4 separate regions of the Homo sapiens genome follow, and regions 1, 2 and 4 are each linked to region 3. Evidence: promoter capture Hi-C in 16 types of primary human blood cells and fetal thymus (Javierre and others, 2016). All regions are on one chromosome and are shown on one strand. The core of a region is centred on a gene start or on the middle of the fragment in contact, and the rest is flanking DNA. Distances in the headings are between cores, read along the strand shown. Region 1 has its middle 5.1 kb from the start of NFATC2IP. Region 2 holds the start of RABEP2 (rabaptin, RAB GTPase binding effector protein 2). Region 3 holds the start of SGF29 (SAGA complex associated factor 29). Region 4 overlaps XPO6 (exportin 6).

The links. Contacts are between HindIII fragments. The CHiCAGO score rates a contact against its expected background, and 5 or more counts as called.
Region 1: a fragment that was not itself captured here is called in contact with the fragment with the promoter of SGF29 in region 3 in 1 of 17 cell types (total CD8 T cells); the score reaches 5.3 in total CD8 T cells.
Region 2: a contact is called between the fragment with the promoter of RABEP2 here and the fragment with the promoter of SGF29 in region 3, in 1 of 17 cell types (erythroblasts). The highest score is 5.6, in erythroblasts.
Region 4: a fragment that was not itself captured here is called in contact with the fragment with the promoter of SGF29 in region 3 in 1 of 17 cell types (total CD8 T cells); the score reaches 5.3 in total CD8 T cells.

The regions. Positions count from the first base shown.
Region 1 is chr16:28,944,229-28,947,506 of GRCh38, reverse strand. No RefSeq gene overlaps it. Among named protein-coding and RNA genes, the nearest start is that of NFATC2IP, 5.1 kb to the left of the region's middle. The HindIII fragment of the contact is 5,380 bases long and covers 1-3,278 here.
Region 2 is chr16:28,923,111-28,926,541 of GRCh38, reverse strand. RABEP2 (rabaptin, RAB GTPase binding effector protein 2) reads left to right here and starts at 1,304. Exons shown (of 13, transcript NM_024816.3): 1 at 1,304-1,439; 2 at 1,927-2,139. The coding sequence starts at 1,379. RefSeq lists enhancers at 261-844, 1,823-2,052, 2,083-2,172 and silencers at 1,063-1,412, 1,443-1,662. The HindIII fragment of the contact is 8,433 bases long and covers 1-3,431 here.
Region 3 is chr16:28,552,003-28,555,503 of GRCh38, reverse strand. SGF29 (SAGA complex associated factor 29) reads right to left here and starts at 1,584. Exons shown (of 10, transcript NM_138414.3): 1 at 1,407-1,584. RefSeq lists a silencer at 1,156-1,275 and an enhancer at 1,296-1,615. The HindIII fragment of the contact is 18,994 bases long and covers 1-3,501 here.
Region 4 is chr16:28,130,364-28,133,519 of GRCh38, reverse strand. XPO6 (exportin 6) reads left to right here. Exons shown (of 24, transcript NM_015171.4): 12 at 1,117-1,186. Among named protein-coding and RNA genes, the nearest start is that of GSG1L, 68 kb to the right of the region's middle. The HindIII fragment of the contact is 1,747 bases long and covers 525-2,271 here.

The DNA of each region.
Region 1 (3,278 bases), core at 71-2,570, 390 kb before region 3:
GCTCCTGTAACAATATGGAATTTGAAATTTTATCTTGAAAACAGGATAATGGTTTACACCTGCTTGGCTGTAATGAAGGATATTTCTTTTTGCCTTTGCAATCTTTTACCAGATTGCCAGTGATGTGCATCACATTCTAACTTAATGCTTATTCAAGCCGGGTGCAGTGGCTCACGCCTCTAATCCCAGTACTTTGGGAGGCTGAGGTGGTTGGATCACCTGAGGTCAGGAGTTCGAGACCAGCCTGGCCAATATGGTGGTGTATTTTTCTACTAAAAATACAAAAAATTAGCCAGGCATTGTGGTGGGCACCTGTAATCCCAACTACTCCGGAGCCTGAGGCAGGAGGATCACTTGAACCCGGGAGGCAGAGGTTCCAGTGAGCTGAGATTGTGCCATTGCACTCCAGCATGGGCAACAAGAGTGAAACTCCATGTCAAAAAAGAAAGAAAAATTATGCTTATTCAATAATAAAACCAGCCCGGGCATGTTGGCTTATGCCTGTAATCCCAGCACTGGGAGCCTGAGGTGGGAGGATCACTTGAGGTCTAGGGTTCAAGGCCAGCCTGGGCAATATAGCAAGACCCTGTCTCTACAAAAAGTAATAATAATTAGTGGGTGTCGTGATGCACACCTGTAGTCCTAGCTACTTGGGAGGCTGATTGAGCCCAGGAGTTCAAGGCTGCAGTGAGCTATGATCTCACCACTTCACTCGAGCCTGGGCAACAGAGCAAGACCCTCTCTCTAAAAATAAATAAATACATACAATTTAAGGCCAGGCACAGTGGTTCACGTCTGTAATCCCAGCACTTTGGGAGGCCAAGGTGGGAGGATCACTTCAGGCTGAGCGTTAAGACCCGCCTAGGCAATATAGTAAAACCCCCAACTCTACGAAAAATAATAATACATTTTAAAACTTTTTTTTTTTTGAGATGGAGTTCCACTCTTGTTGCCCAGGCTGGAGTGCAGTGGCACAATCTTGGATCACTGCAACCTCCACCTCCCGGGTTCAAGCGATTCTCCTGCCTCAGCCTCCTGAGTAGCTGGGATTACAGACATGCGCCACCACGCCTGGCTAATTTTTTGTACTTTTAGTAGAGATGGAGTTTCACCATGTTGGTCAGGCTGGTCTCGAACTCCCAACCTCAGGTGAGCCGCCCGCCTCAGCCACCCAAAGTGCTGGGATTACAGGCGTGAGCCATCACGCCAGGCCCATTTTACAACTTTTTAACCAAAAATAATAATAAAACTGTTTTCTGTCTCTACTACCTTTGTGGAGAAGTTTGTTGGGTTTAGATATTTTGTTTCTTAATTATATTTCCCAAACACACTCGCCAACACCTCCTACCAACAATATTGTGCACCTCAGAGACTACACGCCCTCCACACATCCACAGCGTTGGCAACTCCTGCACAACATATATCCCAACACAACACAAACACGCCCCTTCAACACTTCACTCTTCCCACTTTGCCTCCAACCGTATAACCACCTGCCGCCTCACACTTACGTCCCACGCCACACGTCGCTCAGGATACCCACACCGCACACACCCAATACCACATGCTGCTCACACCCACGGTGCTCACAAAACTCGCGCCTCATACATCCACGCAGAACGGCATGTCCACCTCTGCCCTAGTCTCATCCCATACGCCTCCATCCCAACCGCGGCACCGATGTCCCCTGCAGGCGCCCCCCGCTGGACCAGCATGCATTTCCCTTCCCCGTGCAGACTCCGCCAAGGTCAGGACTGCAGGCGCACAACAGCCAGCAGGTGGAGCTGTTTTCCAGGAAACGGAGGCTCCTGGACTCCACCGACTTCCCAGCCCCAGGAGGCCTTCAGCCTCTCTCTGTAGCCAGGCGGCAGGCCAGTCTTGGGCGCTCCCGGGAAACCACTGCAAACCGCAAGCAGGAGGTGGCCCTGAGAGTCTAAAATTTTCAAGTCTCCTTTCCCCAAACCTTGCTCAAGAGCTGAAAGTGCACCTGTAAGTCCCAGCTACTAGGAATGCTTGAGATGGGAAGATTGCTTGAGTCCAGGAGCTCAAGGCTAGCCTGGGCACACATAGCGAGACCTCATCTCTGTTTTTTGTTTTTGTTTTTGTTTGAGACGGAGTCTCGCTCTGTTGCCAGGCTGGAGTGCAGTGGCGTGATCTCGGCTCACTGCAACATCCGCCTCCTGGGTTCAAGCGATTCTCCTGCTCAGCCTCTCAAGTAGCTGGGACTACAGGCGTGTGCCACCAGGCCCGGCTAATTTTTGTATTTCTAGTAGAGGCGGGGTTTCACCATGTTGGCCAGGATGGTCTCAATCTCTTGACCTAGTGATCCACCCGCCTCAGCCTCCAAAAGTGCTGAGATTACAAGTGTGAGCCACCGTGCCCAGCCAAGACCTCATCTCTTAAAAAAAAAAAAAATTATTTTTTGGCCAGGCGCAGTGGCTCACGACTGTAATCCTAGCCCTTTGGGAGGCCGAGGTGGGAGGATCACTTGAGGCCAGGAGCTCAAGTCTAGCCTGGGCAACATGGCAAAACCCCTTCTCTACCAAAAAATACAGAAGTTAGCCAGCCGGGTGTGGTGGTGCACGCCTATAGTCCCAGCTACTAGGGAGGCTGAGGTGAGAGAACTACTCAAATCCAGGAGTTCAAAGTTACGGTGGGCTATGATTGTGCCATTACCCTCTAACCTGGCCTAGCCTAGCCTAGTGAGACCCTGTCTCAAAATAAATAAATAAATAAATAAATAAATAAATAAGATGTCAAATAATAAGAGCTCATGCTTGAGTCCTTGCTAAGCCACTGTTGTATGCTTTACGTGTCATTTAAGACTCATTGATAATGTCCTCATTTTCTGAATTACTATTTCATGGTCTATTTTACAGACCAGGAAATTGCAGTTCAGAGAGCTTAAGCCATGTAGCTGGAAAGGGGTGGAGCCAGGATTCACATAAACCCAGCTAGTCTGGGCCAGGCACAGTGGCTTATGCCTGTAAACCCACCACTTTAGGAGGCTGAGGCAGGCGGATCATCTGAGGTCAGGTGTTCAAGACCAGCCTGGCCAACATGATGAAACCCTGTCTCTACTAAAAATACAAACAAACAAAAAAAATCTAGCTGGGCAGCTGGGCTTGGTGGTGTGTGCCTGTAGTCCCAGCTACTCAAGAGGCTGAGGCAGGAGAATTGCTTGAACCTGGGAAGTGGAGGTTGCAGTGAGCCAAGATTGCACCACTGCACTCCAACCTGGGTGACAGAACCAGACTCCATCAAAACAAACAAACAAA
Region 2 (3,431 bases), core at 55-2,554, 370 kb before region 3:
TTCTAGCTTCATCCATGTCCCTGCAAAGGACATGATCTCGTTCCTTTTTATGGCTGTATAGTATTCCATGGTGTATATGTACCACATTTTCTTTATCCAGTCTATCATTGATGGGCATTTGGGTTGAGTCCATGTCTTTGCTATTTTGAATAGTGCTTCAATGAACATACTCGTGCATGTATCTTTGTAATAGAATGATTTATATTCCTTTAGGTATATACCCAGTAATGGGATTTCTGGGTCAAATGGTATTTCTGGTTCTAGGTCTTTGAGGAATCACCACACTGTCTTCCACAATGGTTGAACTAATTTACATTCCCACCAACAGTGTAAAAGCGTTCTACCTTTGGCCATTTTCAAACTGCATTATCTGTTTTACAAAAATCGCTCCAGCTGCTTTACGGAGAATTAATTAATTAAAGGGTGGAGTCGACACTGCGGAAGTTCAGGAGAAGTGATGGGAGCTGGGACGGAGTGTTAGCGCTGGAGATGGAGAAAAAGGGGCACATTCTGGAATAGTCAGCACATTGGAAGTAGAGTTTACGGGACTTGCAGGAGGACACGTAGAATCAAGGACTTCCAGGTTCCTGGCGTGTCCTTTACAGAGGGAAAAAAGGTTTGAGGGAAGGGGAACCAAGGCTCTGGACATAAATCTGAATTGCCTGTCACCGTCCGGGTGGAGGTCACAGATAAAGAGCCTGATCTAGACACAGGCGGAGAGGAGAGGAGGGATTTGAGGGCGTTGGGAGGAGGAAAGGGGGGCCAGCAGGAAGCGGTGACTGGCTGAGTAACAAAATGGGGGTGGGGACGTGCAAGTTTCAGACTCCGACTAACTACGCGGGGACTCCGAGGCGCTCAGAAAAATGAAGCCGACCCGGCCCTGCCCCGAGGGACGCTCCAAGAGGGCGGAGGTGCAGGGAGGGCCCCGCCACAATTCGCGGTAACGCAAGCCAGGCTCGGGCGGAAGGGCGGCCGGAGCCGATCAAAGGCTGGCTCCGGGCAGGGGCAGCGAGGGAGCGAGGGGGAGCTCTCCGCAGGCCGGTGTCCCGGAGGAGGCATAATTGGAGCAGGGCTTCCAAGGTCACGGAGAGACGCCGGGCAAGACCTCTTAAGGATCCTCTTCCGGGCTTGAAAGGCAGGCGTCCTCCCGAACCGCGCGACCCAGCCAAGAAGAGCCGGGGCGGGGCCGGGGCCGGGGCCGGGGGCCGACTCGGGAATCTTCGGCCGAGGCTCGGCAATCCCCCCATCCTCCGTCCGGGGCCTCCAGCCCGGGGCCGATCCGGAAACAGCCGAGCGGATCCGGAAACAGCCGAGAGGACCCGGAAGCGGTGCGCTCCGTCACCAGGGAGTGCGGGAATCCGCCGTTTGCGCTGAGGCAATGGCGGCAGCTGCGCCGGTGGCCGCGGACGACGATGAGCGGCGGCGGCGGCCGGGGGCTGGTACGTGAGGGGGCGTCCGTGCAAGCGGGGAACGGTGATGCTGGGGGCGGGGCCGAGCCAGCCACCTGCGGATGGGGGGTGGAGAGGGATGATGGAGGAAGGGGCGGGGCCACGCCGTCGGGAAAGGGGGCGGGGCCTACAGCCACAGGCAAAAGGGGGCGTGGCCCGGCCATTGAAGGGGTAGGGCCAGTGACAGGTGCGAAGTGGGGCCCGGTGAGGAAGGGGCGCGGCCACTAGGAGGGCGGGGCCAGGTGGGACCGAAGAGAGGACTGAGTGAAACTGGCCACCGCGAAGAGATGGAGTGTAGGCAGCACCCGGCAGAGCGAGTGGGAAGGGGGCGGGGCAGGGGCGGGGCCAGGTGAGCCGGGCGGGCCCAGGTGAAGGAGGCCCCAGATGAAGGCAACAGTACTAGGTTGCAGGACTTGCTAAGCCGGTAGGTGGCCTGGGGTAAGAGATGGGAAGAGAGGCTGATCCCTGTCCCCCACAGCACTGGAGGACTCCCGGTCCCAGGAAGGGGCAAATGGTGAGGCCGAGTCAGGTGAGCTCAGCCGGCTTCGGGCTGAGCTGGCAGGCGCCCTGGCAGAAATGGAAACCATGAAGGCTGTGGCAGAGGTGAGCGAGAGCACGAAGGCCGAGGCTGTGGCTGCGGTGCAGCGGCAGTGCCAAGAGGAGGTGGCCTCGCTGCAGGCCATCCTGAAAGGTGAGACGCGGGACTCACCTAGACTCCCCATCAACCCCATACTGGGGAGTGCATGACGAGAAAGGGATTGGGGGCACAGATAAGCTATGGGATAGGTTAGCAGGGCTGCCTGGCACAGGGCATGCCTATGGCCCAGAGGAAGGGCCGCCCTTTTAAAATTTGCATAGAGGCCCTCCATGTGATAGCAGCAGCTCTGTCAGTTATAGCTAAGTTTAGCTCCCAGCTTCTATCTGTTGCCTTGTCCCATGTCATTTCTTGTCCCTCACTGATGATTGATCAACCCTGAAGATGGGCGAGAAACTTCTCAGTTCCCCAAACCAACCTCATTTTAGTCTGGACTTCTGGGAAATAGAATCAGCCCTGGCCCAGTCTCTGTGAGTCTAATGCTCTGCTCTCTAGCCTTCCCCAGACACTCCCCCCTCCACCCCACGCCATGCACCAGCTTCCCCACCTCCGCCCCACGTTCTTTGTACTTGGTCCTCTGGCCCCAGACGCCCCAGCTGCTGATCCTGTTTTCTACTCTCCTTCCTCTAGCAGAAGCCAGAGACTCTGAAACAGATGTCAGAGCTGCCCCCGCTGCTATGCCCCTGCTGCGGTGGGGCTCTCGTCAACTCTCTCCTGGACTTTTGTCCCAACCTTCTCACAGATCTTCCTCTATAGTGTGGCCTTGACATTGGCTTCCAGAGTAAACTTCCTAAAATTCCCTTCCCAACATGCGATTTCCCTTTCTAACAGCTGCTGGTGGCTGGAGACTTCTCTGGGGCTGTATTTCCCACATTTCAGGATCCACCTGCCTGTGCAATGTAGACACATCCTTGTACAACTTACTGTGCTGTTTACTTAATATTTGTTCTTTAAATAGATCCACATTTTAAAAGTTTACATACATTTATTAAGGGAAACTTGTTATATCTACTATATAAGAAAAGCCAGGTGTGTCCTAAATAATAACAATAGCTAGCTTTTTTTTTTTTTCTTGAGTCAATAAGAGTTTCACTCTGTCGCCCAAGCTGGAGTGCGTCACAGCACGCTGGTGTGATCTCAGCTCACTGCAACCTCCACCTCCTGGGCTCAAGCAGATCCTCCTACCTCAGCCTCCCAAGTAGCCAAGACTACAGGTGCATGCCACCATGCCTGGCTAATTTTTAGTATTTTTTTGTAGAAACAGGGTCTCTCTATGTTACCCAGACAGGTCTTGAACTCCTGAGCTCAAACGATCTGCCTGCCTTGGCCTCCCAAAGTGCTGGGATTACAGGTGTGAGCCACCGCGCCTGGCCAGGTAGCATGTTTTG
Region 3 (3,501 bases), core at 335-2,834:
TTTTCTTCCACCTCTAGAACTCTTTTTTGAGACAGGGTCTTGCTCTGTCACCCAGGCTAGAGTGCAGTGGCACGATCTTGGCTCACTGCAGCATCCACCTCCTGGGTTTAAGTGATTATTGTGCCTCAGCCTCCCAAGTAGCTGGGATTACAGGCGTGCACCACCACGCCCGGCTAATTTTTTAATTTTTTTTTTTTTTTTTAGAAGAGACTGGATTTCACCACGTTGCTCGGGCTGGTCTCAAACCCCTGAGCTCAGGCAGTCTGCCCACCTCGGCCTCCCAAAGTGCTAGGATTACACGCATGAGCCACCGCGCCTGGCCAGTATTTACATTTAAAATGTGAAACTGGGATTGCGGTGGCTCATGCCTGTAATTCCAGCATTTGGGGAGGCTTTGGTTAGGAGGACTGCTTAAGCCCAAGAGTTTGAGGCTGCAGTGAGCTGTAATAACACCACTGTTCTCCAGTCTGAGCAACAGAGAACGTGTCTCTAATAAAAACAAAAATGTGAGATGATGCCTAGGTTAGAATCAGCAGAGGAGAAGCCAGAGAGAGCAGAGGCAAAGGAAGAGAACGTTCAGCAAGCCAAATGAAAACAGTGTTTCAAGGAGGGGCAGTGATCCACAGCATCAAATGCTGAACAGGACTGAGACCTAACTTAACAATGCATTTGGCCACCTAGAGATCACTGGTGGCTTTGACAAGAAGCCTTTTTAGTGGAGTGGTGGAGACCAAAGCCTGACTAGAGGCTCAAGGGTTCAAGACTTGGAGGAGAAAAGGCATTAGTGAGGGTAGACTAAGGCCTTTGGCTGCAAACCGGAGCCGAGGAGGAGGTAACTGGAGGATAGCGAGGGTGAAGGAGGCTGTTTTGTTGTTCTTAAGACGGGCATTTTTTGGCCGGGCGCGGGGGCTCACGCCTATACTCCCCACACTTTGGGAGGCCGAGGCGGGAGGTTGAGCCTCCTGGGCAAACGACGAGCTGTTAGTGTATCTTGTTAAGAACTATATATATATACAAAATTTTTGTGCAAATCATAAAATAAGTGCTGGAGTTCGGGGCCCATCCTCTGTCCGCATCTTCGTGACCCGGGTCCGAGTACCCCACCTGGAAGCTGCGTCCGTGCCGAGCCCAGCGTGTCGCTGTTTCCCACCCTCGCCGGGGATGGAAGCACGCAAGCGCAGACCTCGAGCGGCCGGGCGCAGGGCCCGCCCTCCCCGAGCCCCGGCCCCGCCCTCCTCTCCCGCCCCCACCCCCACGAGCCCCGCCCCCCTCCCGCCCAGAGCGCGTGCGCACCGCCCCTAGAGCGCCGCCTCAGGGAGGTCGGGAGCCGCGGCGCGGAGGGAGGACTCAGCCCTTCGCTCCCGCGTTTCGCCGGAGGTCTCAGGCCACGGCCCGTCGCCACCTACCGAGTCCGGGACAAAACAAGCTCGTCGGGCTGGAAACTGCGACGAGGGGAGCAGGCGCGTTCCTCGAACCCTTTTTCGGAGTCTGCGGATGATCACAGACCTGCGTTCGAAGATTGGCGGCACGTCGAGAACCGCACACGCTTTTTTTTCCTTTTATGAGCGTAGTCGCGCGCGGAGGACCTTGCACGCATGCGTAGTCGTTCCTCTGTGACGTGACCCGCTGCCCCGTGGGAAATGTAGTTTTCACTTGGCACACCGCTCCGGCTCTTGGCGGAACCCTAATTTAACCAACCAAAGTGCTTGTGCGTTTTCAGCGTTTTCTCCCATTTCCCCAGACTCTATTTAAAACAAAATGCAATAAATAAATAAATAAATAAAACTTGAAAGCGAACAGATTGCTGCTTGCTGGAGGTGGGTGGGCGCAGGGGTAATATGAAAACTGTACTTTCTGCTCAATTTTGTTGTGAACCTAAAAATGCCCTAAAAAATAAAAGTCTGTTGTTAAAAAATTAATTAAAAACAGGCCGGGCGCGGTGGCTCACGCCTGTAATCCCAACACTGGGACGCTAAGGCGGGCGGATCACCTGAGTTCAGGAGTTTGAAACCAACCCGGCCAACATGGTGAAACCCCGTCTCTACTAAAAAATACAAAAATCAGCCGGGCGTGGTGGCGGGTGCCTGTAATCCCAGGTACTGGGGAGGCTGAGGCTGGAGAATCGCTTGAATTCAGGAGGCGGAGGTTGTAGTGACTGGAGATTGTACCATTGCACTCCAGCCTGGGTGACAAGAGGGAAACTCCATCTCAAAAAAACAAACAAACAAAAAACAAGCAGATCTTTAGACCCAGAAATCGCACTTCTAGGGAATCTTCTCAGGAAAGTACTAAGGATATGGACGTGCAATGGACATGTAGCCTCAATGGTATTTTATCGAAAGCCATCCTGGTATCTTAAAGTTTCTTACATAACCTACAAATGTCTGTAATTATTTGTTGATTATTTGATAAACTTGCAAGTCCTATGAGATTGGGATCATCTTGTGTTCACCTGTGTATTCCTAGTACCTAGCACAGTGCCTGGCCATCACATGTTTCTTTTTTTTTCTCTTTGAGACAGGGTCTCGCTCTGTTGTCCAGGTTGGAGTGCAGTGGTGCCATCAGGGCTCCTGAGTAGCTAGGACTACAAGCACACACCAGCACATTCTGCTGATTTTTAAATTTTTTTTGGTAGAGATGGGGGTCTTGCTATGTTGCATAGGCTGGTCTTGAGTTCCTGGGCTCAAGCGATCCTCCTGCCTCAGCCTCCCAAAGTGCTGGGATTACAGGCATGAGCCACCAACCTCAGCCCCGTCAGTATTTTTCTGTTTATTAGAGAATCTCAGGCGTTAGCACTGAAACTATGTTAACCCCAAAATTAATGCATCATTTTCTTCCATCACACTTGCAGTTCTTTCTGTGGGCGTCAGGTCAGTGAATGACATGCCCATCCACCCAGCTGCAGTTCTACTTACTGCCTTTTATGAAGGTTATGCTTTGAGGGATTTTGCAAATTTTGCATTTGTAAAGGTCTCAGGGGCTCTTTTTCCTGATTGTTAAATATCAGCCCTAGCTAGGCCAGGCGTGGTGACTCACGCCTGTAATCCCAGCACTTTGGGAGGCCGAGGTGGGCAGATCACGAGGTCAGGAGTTTGAGACCAGCCTAGCCAATATGATGAAACCATGTCTCTACTAAAAATACAAAAATTAGCTGGGCATGGTGGCACGCACCTGTAGTCCCAGCTACTCTGGAGGCTGAAGCAGGAAAGAACCACTTGAACCCAGGAGGCGGAGGTTGCAGTGAGCCAAGATTGCGCCACTGCACTCCAGTCTGGGCAACAGAGCAAGACTCTGTCTCAAAAAATAAATAAATAAAATAAATTTAAAAAATCAACCCTAGTCACTGATCAGGAGAGATGTAGAGCTTACAGTTGTTTTTTAAATTATTTTGGTCTCTGCCCTGTTTTAAAATTTTATCGTTAATTTCTGATTTTTCTACAATAAACATGTATTTATTAACTTTTTAAAAAGTGTTTTAGAGTGTTGTCCACATGTAAGGAA
Region 4 (3,156 bases), core at 149-2,648, 420 kb after region 3:
CCTTTGTAAAGCTCGCTCTTGGCAAATTGCTAGCTTTCTCTGCGTGTGTCTATACGTGCTGGAATCTTTAGTTGTAAGGATTGATTCCCTTCCCTGTGTGGTGCGTGTTATTCAAAGAGATTTCATTAAATTCATCACTTCTTCAAGGCAAGGCAGTTATTAGGGTAATTTTTTTTTTTTTGAGACGGAGTCTCACGCTGTCTCCCAGGCCGGAGTGTGCAGTGGCGTGATCTTGGCTCACTGCAACCTCCACCTACTGGGTTCAAGCAATTCTCCTGCCTCAGCCTCCCGAGTAAGTGGGACTACAGGAGCTCACCACCACACCCAGCTAACTTTTTGTATTTTTAGTGGAGACGGGGTTTCACCGTGTTAGCCAGGATGGTCTCGATCTCCTGACCTCGTCGTCTGCCCGCCTCTGCCTCCCAGAGTGCTGGGATTTACAGGCGTGAGCCACCGCCCCTGGCCATAGGGTCATCTTTTGCATTGAATGACCCAGCTATACTTGTGTTCTCTCCTGGAAAGCTTCGTACTTTGCCATCTGCCTTTCTTAGGGGCCAGTCACGTTTTAATCTTACTGGTGAGTGTAGCAGCTTGAGAAAGAAAGATGCAGCTCCGGTTATGACGTTCTGACCGCTACTTGAGCCAGGGAACTGACTTCCAAATAATTTGGCCAATCTTATCACTTTACCATGTGCTTAATAAGGCATAGCTGACATTTCTCTCAAGGTAGAGGTTCCCTTGGATTTGAAGGGAGATATGGTCCCTTCTCAGAGTTCTAGAAGGTGTAGGTCATTTCAGGGTTTGATCTCCTCTATTAGGAACGTAAGAGTCATACCACAGTGTCCTTTGCTTTTTTTTTTTTTTTAAAAAAAGGGTTGAACTAATACGTTTTCTTTCTTATTCTGTGTATTAATTGGCGGTTTCAATTATAGAAACTAGTTGGGGGGCACTGAAGGGGGGTCATAGCTTTTTAGCTGCATTTAAAGGTTCCCAGAGAAAAGGTTTTGATCCTGTTCCTCACACCATAGTTACGTGTTAATGTTGTAATGTTAAAATGCTATTAAAACTTGCATTTATGGCTTAAAATTTTTGTTGTTTTTGTTTCTTTGTTTTCAGTTCCCTGTTCTTCAGGACAATTTAGAAGTTTATTTGGGATTACAACAGTTTATAGTCACTTCAGGGTCAGGTAAACTGGTTTTTATTTTCTAATTTAACCAAACATTCAAAAAACCATCGGACTGATATTTCATTACTGCTGCCGTTGCTGTCGGAACATGATTTCTTCACTGCAGCCTCCCCACTGGCATCTCTCCCCACTTCGAAACAGGGAACGTTTTTAAAGGCTTATGATGAAAAGCTGTGGGGGAGGTAAAAGATGAGGTCATGACAGTGTATTCCAAGGAGGTGTTTGGAAAAGAAACTGATTTGGAGTAAAGAGACAGGACTTACTAAAAAGCCTCTAATTAGTTTCCTTATGTCCTTTCAACCAGCAGGTGTACTAGGGAGAACATGGCCTTGTGCTTTCTTGCTTCCTGCTCACTTTAGAATTGGAAGGCCATAGTGCAGCTGATGGCCTGTGGTCCCCCTGCCCCCTGCACCTGTTGCAAATGGCCCCAGGGGCTCTGACCAGAGCTGGTTGAAAAGGCTTTTGGCTGCTGTTTACAGGCCCTGCCTGCTTGGGGTTTAGGGTTAGTTTGCTTTGTTATTTTGTTGATAACAATAATAGTAATAGCTTCCATTTGTAGCTCTCATTACATGCCAGGCACTGTGTTATTGACTTATATTACTTAATTCTCTCCATCGTCCTGTGAGGTGTAAGTGCTATTACTAGTTACCCCTGTTTTACATAAGAGGAAATTGATGTTCAGAGATGTTAATTTACCCAGGGTCCCATGGCTTTGTTGGTACAAGTCGCATGATGGTATAATAGGGAATGACAAAATGTTGAAATAGCTAACATCTGACATTCATTTTTGTCAACTGAAAACACCAGTAACTGAAAGCCACATGTGTCCTCCCTGCCCCATCAGCTGCTATGCACCACTCTCACTGCCCTTCCTTCTTCCCAGCATGCTTCTTATGGGATCTGTCCCGGCTCTGGTGCGCAGCCCCTGTGTTGGGTAACTGTTGTTTCAGCCCAGCACAGAGCCGCCCAGTGTGCAGCCCATCTCCTGGATGAGCTTGTGATTCATGGCAGAGCCTCCACAGGAGCCTTTTTCCGAGGCTGTCCTTGGTGGTCTGTGACGGCTGGTTTCCATGACTATATAAGCTTCTAAATAATCTAGTGGGCCCCAGGAGGCTGATGGGCCTTGGCATGCCCCGAATGTAGGCCCTGACTTTGTAGATAGGGTAAGAAATTTAAAAAGACAAAACTTTAAAAAGACACTTTCAAAACAAACATGCTTATAAAATGTGCTGTCACCACTAATGAAAATCATTTGGCTGTGTAGAAGTGCTACAGATGTTTCCAGAAGCCATTTTTGGGAATAATCGTGCCCAGGTGGTCTTTCCTTCAGGACCACTATTCAAATTAGAATGTACTCAGGACCCTGAAGACACTGTTCTTGATCTATTAAAAAAATCAAGCAGGTGTTCTTTCCTCCCCCACACTGACCCTTCAGTGTCCTGTTTACTTTTGTAAAAGCTGGTGTTTTTACATTCTGTTGTGTCTGTCTTTAGGTGAAAGTCTAGTGAATCTGAAACTCTATTTCTGGGACATAGCTGATAATTCTGAGCTCTTCTCCCTAGAAGGATAATGTGATTTATTTTTTCCTATAGGAAATACCGCATACTTGCTTTCACTAAAGCCTGTTTACTGGCAATTTCACAGAACTCGGCTCGTCCGGATCATTTATAAATCTCATCCTCAGCACTGATCCTTGGCTTGTACTCCAGTGGCAAAACCTCCCAGGCCAGAAAAATGCTTATTTCCTGCTTTAAAACGAGCTCTCTCATCCATGACAAAGCATTCCCCAATTTTTGGTGGCTCAGAAGCCAAGTTTCCAGTGCAAAGGCTATTAACAAATGGAAACTCTGAGTACATTTTTTCCCCTGGTTCCCATAGCCATTTACCCCCTCAAATAACCTCCATGCCACACCAGTCAGTCAGCCTCATGACCCTCAGCAGAAACTGTGCCCTCTCATCCCTGATAGGCT